Linked DNA regions of Homo sapiens: region 1 is linked to region 2. Evidence: promoter capture Hi-C in 16 types of primary human blood cells and fetal thymus (Javierre and others, 2016). All regions are on one chromosome and are shown on one strand. Each heading gives the region's core, a stretch centred on a gene start or on the middle of the fragment in contact. The rest is flanking DNA. Distances are from core to core; before and after follow the strand shown. Region 1 overlaps MADD (MAP kinase activating death domain). Region 2 holds the start of MTCH2 (mitochondrial carrier 2).

The links. Contacts are between HindIII fragments. The CHiCAGO score rates a contact against its expected background, and 5 or more counts as called.
Region 1: a fragment that was not itself captured here is called in contact with the fragment with the promoter of MTCH2 in region 2 in 1 of 17 cell types (M2 macrophages); the score reaches 5.4 in M2 macrophages.

What each region holds. Positions count from the first base shown.
Region 1 is chr11:47,317,325-47,320,551 of GRCh38, reverse strand. All of the region lies in intron 30 of MADD (MAP kinase activating death domain), which reads right to left. Among named protein-coding and RNA genes, the nearest start is that of MYBPC3, 34 kb to the left of the region's middle. The HindIII fragment of the contact is 3,885 bases long and covers 1-3,227 here.
Region 2 is chr11:47,641,078-47,644,054 of GRCh38, reverse strand. MTCH2 (mitochondrial carrier 2) reads left to right here and starts at 1,496. Exons shown (of 13, transcript NM_014342.4): 1 at 1,496-1,676. The coding sequence starts at 1,590. RefSeq lists a silencer at 1,306-1,575. The HindIII fragment of the contact is 6,217 bases long and covers 1-2,977 here.

The sequences.
Region 1 (3,227 bases), core at 210-2,709, 320 kb after region 2:
AGCCTCCCAAAGTACTGGGATTACAGGCGTGAGCCAACATGCTTGGCCTAATGAGTAATATATAAATATATATTTCATTTTTTTAAATTTTTTTTTTGAGACGGAGTCTTGCTCTGTCGCCCAGGCTGGAGTGAAGTGGTGCAATCTCGGCTCACTGCAACCTCCGCCTCCCAGGTTCAAACAATTCTCTGCCTCAGCCTCCCAAGTAACTGGGATTACAAGCACCCACCACCTCGCCTGGCTAATTTTTTGTATTTTTAGTAGAGGCAGGGTTTCACCATCTTGGCCAGGCTGATCTTGAACTCTTGACCTCGTGATCCACCCACCTTGGCCTCCCAAAGTGCTGGGATTACAGGCGTGAGCCACCACACCCAGCATGAGTAATATTTTTTTAAAAAATAGTGAGAGGCACTAGTTAAACCAATTATGGTACACCATACGACATCTAATGGCTAAGCATCCATTAAAGAAAAAAAAAAAAAGACACGGAAAGGTATATCATTAAGTGAAAAAAGCAAATTATTTAACAATATTTGTAATTTTTTTTTTTTTTTTTTTTTTGCGATGGAGTCTCGCTTTGTCACCCAGGCTGGAGAGCAGTGGCATGATCTCGGCTCACTGCAACCTCCGCCTCCGGGTTCAAGCGATTCTCCTGCCTCAGCCTCCCATGTAGCTGGGATTGCAGGCGCCTGCCCAACACGCCCGGCTAATTTTTGTATTTTTAGTAGAAACAGGGTGTCACCACGTTGGCTAGGCTTGTCTGGAACTCCTGACCTCAAGTTATCCACCTGCCTCGGCCTCCCAATGTGCTGGGATTACAGGCTCATGTGAGCCACCATGCCCAGCCCAATATTTGTAATTTGATACCACTTTCGTAAGTGCAAAAACAAAATTCCATATAAATAAATTATATTTGCACAAATATGCATTTTCAATAATCTGAAAGGAGTCACATAAAACTCTTCATTACTGGTTACCTCTGGGACAAAGGATTGAAAGGCAGTGAGTAAAACTTTTAATTATTTTTTAACTTTGGCACGGTTTGAAACATTTACAGCATATACTGTTTTACTTCTGTAACTAAAAAAAGGGCAACAAAGACAATTTTTAAAAATCTTTGGCTGGGTATGGTGGCTCACACCTGTAATCCTAGCATTTTGGGAGGCCAAGGCAGACGGATCACTTAAGGTCAGGAGTTCAAGACCATCCTGGCCAACATGGCAAAACCCCATCTCTGCTAAAAATACCAAAAATTAGCCAAGCGTGGTGATGCGTGCCTGTAGTCCCAGCTACTCGGGAGTCTGAGGTAGGAGAATCTCTTGAAGTCGGTGGGTGGATGTTGCAGTGAGCCAAGATTGTGCCACTGCACTCCAGCCTGGGTGACAGAGCAAGACTCCACCTCCAAAAAAAAAAAAAAAATTATATATATATATATATTTTCCTTGGCCAGGTGTGGCAGCTCACACCTGTAATCCCAGCACTTTGGGAGGCTGAGGTGGGCAGATCACTTGAGGTCAGGAGTTCGAGACCAGCTTGGCCAAAATGGTGAAACCCCGTCTCTACTACAAATACAAAAATTAGCCAGACATGATGGCATGTGCCTGTAGTCCCAGCTACTCAGGAGGCTGAGGCAGGAGAATCGCTTGAACCTGGGAAGTGGAGGTTGCAGTGAACCAAGATTGTACCACTGCACTTCAGCCTGGGCAACAGAGTGAGACTCTGTCTCAAAAAAAAAAAAAAAAAAAAAAAAAAAAAAAAAAAATTCCCAAACTGCTGTCCAGTTGATCATGCAAAAAGCAGGCTATGCTCTGAGAAAGGCTAAATCAAATAGCCTCACAGGAGCCAGGTGATGGCACAGTGACCATGGTGCACTCTTCCCTGGCATGGCACCACTTCGAGGAAGAGGCATCTATTTGGGTAATGGGTCCAGTCCCACACTCCAGAGACTTAGCATGAGGCTCCCTTTGTACGGTGGTGAGAGTAAGAGTAGTTCAAGGAATCTGCTGGAGATATTTTTTTTAAAAGGAAAAGAAAAGGGCAAGAGTCATGTGCCACTTCTGCTGTGGTGCAGATGTCCTAAGTCAGCCCTAGGCTCTGAGAGGCAACTAGCCAAATTCTAACACTTTAAAGGGTGACATGAAAATGACTCCTTCTTGGCTACACTGACATGTATGTTTCTGCTTCAGGGTAAGCCCTTCTTGCGTTTGGTAGACCACCTGTTCAAAAAAACTGTGAATGTGATATTCAAATTCAGCTAAACCACAGGGGAACAGATAACATAGGCAAAATTTTACTACTTTATATATAGGAGTTGTATTTGGTCCTTAAAATTACTTAGGTCTGTTTCAGAATTAAAAACACAGAAATGAAGAAAACACGGCCAATTTCCTTTATAATCCTGGAGAGTAAGGCTTTTTCTAACCATGCCTCAAAATCCAGAAGCCGTAAAAGAAACTATTGATTAATTTAATTATATAAAAGTAGCCAGGCGTGATGGCTCACACCTGTAATCCCAGCACTTTGGGAGGCCGAGGTGGGTGGATCACTTGAGGTCAGGAGTGCGAGACCACCCTGGCCAACATGGTAAAACCCCATCTCTACTAAAAACACAAAAATTAGCCGGGTGTGGTGGCAGGCACCTGTAAACCCAGCTACTTGGGAGGCTGAGGCAGGAGAACTGCTTGAACCCGGGAGGTATAGGTTGCAGTGAGCCGAGATCATGCCACTGCATCCAGCCTGGGCGATAGAGAGAGACTCTGTCTCAAAAAAAAAAAAAAGTTATATACAAATAAAAAATTTATGTGTGTCAAAAAATACCATAGGCAAAATCAGAAGACAAATGAGGAACTTTCTGGTGGGCAGATCAGGTTGCCCACATCTGAGCCCACTGATGTGTAAGAGAGGGACAACCATATGAGGCAATAGGAAGCGTATAGCACCACTCATTAAGTATTCTTCCCAAAAGAGTGAATCTGAAAGTGATCAAACCTCTAAACTGAACTACCAGTCTATGAGAAATATGTGACAGGAAACACGCTAATACAAAGGAGACACAATCAGCAAAAAATCTAGAATGTAGGAGACTCCACAGGGCAAACGATCCAATTTCTTCAACAAAATTAATGGCAAAGGGGGTATTACGTGTTATGAGACACTTAAGAATTATATCAACCAAAATTACAAATGCATTGTCCCTCTGACCCAGCAATCTCATTTCTGGGAATCCT
Region 2 (2,977 bases), core at 247-2,746:
ACTAATTTTTGTACTTTTAGTACAGATGGGGTTTCACCATGTCGGTCAGGCTGGTCTTGAACTCCCGACCTCAGGTGATCCACCCACCTCAGCCTTCTAAAGTGTTGGGATTACAGGTGTGAGCCACCGTGCCCAGCCAATATCTGTATTTCAATATAAAGTTTTTTAAAAAAAACCCTTTCCTATGCATAATTTCACTTAATGCTCATAATAACCCTGAGAGATACACAGTAGTGTTAGATTTAGATACAAAAACTGGAAATTAAAGTAGCTAAAATGACAAATGGATGCAGTGGAAAAGCCAGGATCCAAATCCAAGTCTTTCCCCTACAGTACTTCACTCTGCTCCAAGCTCAGATTCACCAAATGTTGTTTGATAGAACACGTGAGCTGGGGCTGAAGGAGCAGGGACAATGCCTTTTTCACTTTTGCCTCTGATAGCCTGTAGACTGGTAGGCACTGAAGTATTTGTTCACTTGTGCAATAAATATTTATTGAGCACCTCGTATGTGCTGGGCACTGAAAACACAACCGTGAACAGAGGCTGTCACGGTTCCTGAACTCATGGAGCTTTCATTCCAGTGGAGGAGACATAATTTCAGTGATAATGCTACGACGGGGCACAATGTGGGAGAAAATAAGAGGGAGGTGGCCAGGCGCGATGGCTCCTCACTCCTGTAATCCCAGCACTTTGGGAGGCCAAGGCGGGTGAATCACGAGGTCAGGAGTTTGAGACCAGCCCGGCCAACATCGTGAAACCCCGTCTCTACTAAATAGACAAAAATTAGCCGGGCGTGGTGGCGTGTGCGTGTAATCCCAGCTACTAGGGAGGCTGAGGCAGGAGCATTGCTTGAACCTGGGAGGCGAAGGTTGCAGTGAGCTGAGATCGGGCCACTGCACTCCAGCCTGGGTGACAGAGCGAGACTCCGTCTCAAAAAAAAAAAAAAAAAGAAAGAAAAAGAAAAGGGGGAGGTAATTTTAGAATGGTCAGAGAAGGTTTTTTTGAAAAGATAACATTAATCAAACGAATAAATGAATGAAAAGCCACTCGCTAGCGGATTCATTATTTGCTATACTTATTTAGAGTTTGTCAGTCACGAGACTGTTACGGCTCTGATGCTGAGTATCTTTTGAATCCTATGTTGATGATGCCCAAAAGGCAAGTGCAGAGATGAAGCATAATGAAGAATCCTTTTCAATTTCTTTTCAGTCCTCTGACCTTGCCTCTGCCGTCACGGTCACACTCCCCCACTGACACTCCCATTCTTCTGTTTCCGGACACTTGCGGCCTGGAAGCGCATGTGCAAGAGAAACCGTCATTCCTGGTGAAGGGCGAGCCCCCGGCAGAACGCATGCGCCTCTGTCCCTTAAGCCCCGCCCCGACCTCAGCGCCCCCTCGCGAGCGCCTGCCGTTTCTCGGGGCGGGACGGGGGGGCGGGGACTGGGCGGAGAGGCGCGTGCTGCTGCGTGCGTGCGCGCGCGCCGCGGGCGGGCCAGTGAAACCGGCGGCCCTGGCACGTGACCTAGGACCGGCTCACCGGGTCGCTTGGTGGCTCCGTCTGTCTGTCCGTCCGCCCGCGGGTGCCATCATGGCGGACGCGGCCAGTCAGGTGCTCCTGGGCTCCGGTCTCACCATCCTGTCCCAGCCGCTCATGTACGTGAAAGTGCTCATCCAGGTATGAGGCGTCGCCGCTCCCTACCCCGCCCGGCGCCCCGTTCGGTCGCTGCTGCTCAGGGCGCCTGAGGATCGGCTCAGCCTTGCGGGCCTTTCATTCTCCCGAGATGCTGCTGCTCCTCCGCTGCCCTTTACCTCCCCGCAGGGACAGCTTCCTCAGTCCCGCGGCCCCGCTTGGGGGCCTCGCCGAGCCCTCGCCTCGCCGCCCAGCGTTGAGGCCCTCTCCTCCCTTAGCCAACCGCCACCCGGCCCTGCCCTGCCCGGCGGATCCTCTGAACTTTGGTTCTTCGTCACTGAGGTGGATCCTGGCCGGTCGCCACCAAAGGCTTCCGAACCCTCCCTCTCGCCCCTCCGAAATTCACATTCACCACTACTCCCCCCAAAATCTCAGACGCAAAACACGAAATACTCAGTTGAAGACAAATGTGAAGTTAGGTGGGAACCAACATTTTATTTTTTATTCCTTTTTTTTTTCTTTTTATGCTACTGTTACTACTGCTTTTCTGTTCCGAGGTTTTCGCACCAGATACTGAGAGAAACACAAGGAGCTCATTCAGAAGTGTTAATGAAGGGGTTGCTCTGTCAGATTTCGGAAGGATGCATTGAGCGCTTTCCAGCAGCGGCCCATGTGGCTCCTGACAATGAAAATCACATTTGTCAGAGCTGGAAATTAGTGAAGCTGAGTTTTAGCGAGTTTAAACATGGGAGTTAGTTTCTAATCTACTGTCAAATAATTATTACATGGTATTTTATATTCACATGCAGGTAGGCCAAGTAAGTGATAGACTTAGTGTTTCCAGTTCCTTTGCTATATCCCTGTAATGGGCAGGTCATTCTTTTTTTTATGCTTTTACTGAGAGTTGACATAATTACCTCATGCACTGTGCCTAGGAATGGAACAGTTTTTAGAACCCCTGTCTCGCCGTCTACTTTTCTGTAAAAAATAGGCAAGACACTAGAGAGGGCCCCATTTCTTATTCTTGAGTTGTTGGGAATCCAAATTATTTCTTGCTGAGTAGACCTGTGTGAATTCAGATTCCATATGTTAAAGGCTATTGCAAATAAATTCTTTGTACTTAGAACAAAGACTGATTAGAATGTACTGTAACATCCAAAACAGAATTGGCACATTTGGGGCTAGATAGCATCGGAGGTGACAGCATGTTGCAGTATATAGTAAGAACCCTTGGGGCCGGGCGCGTTCGCTCACGCCTTCCCAGCACTTTGGGAGGCCGAGGTGAGCGGATCACGAGGTCGATGTTTGAGACCAGTCTGACCAACATGGTGAAACCCCGTCTCTAC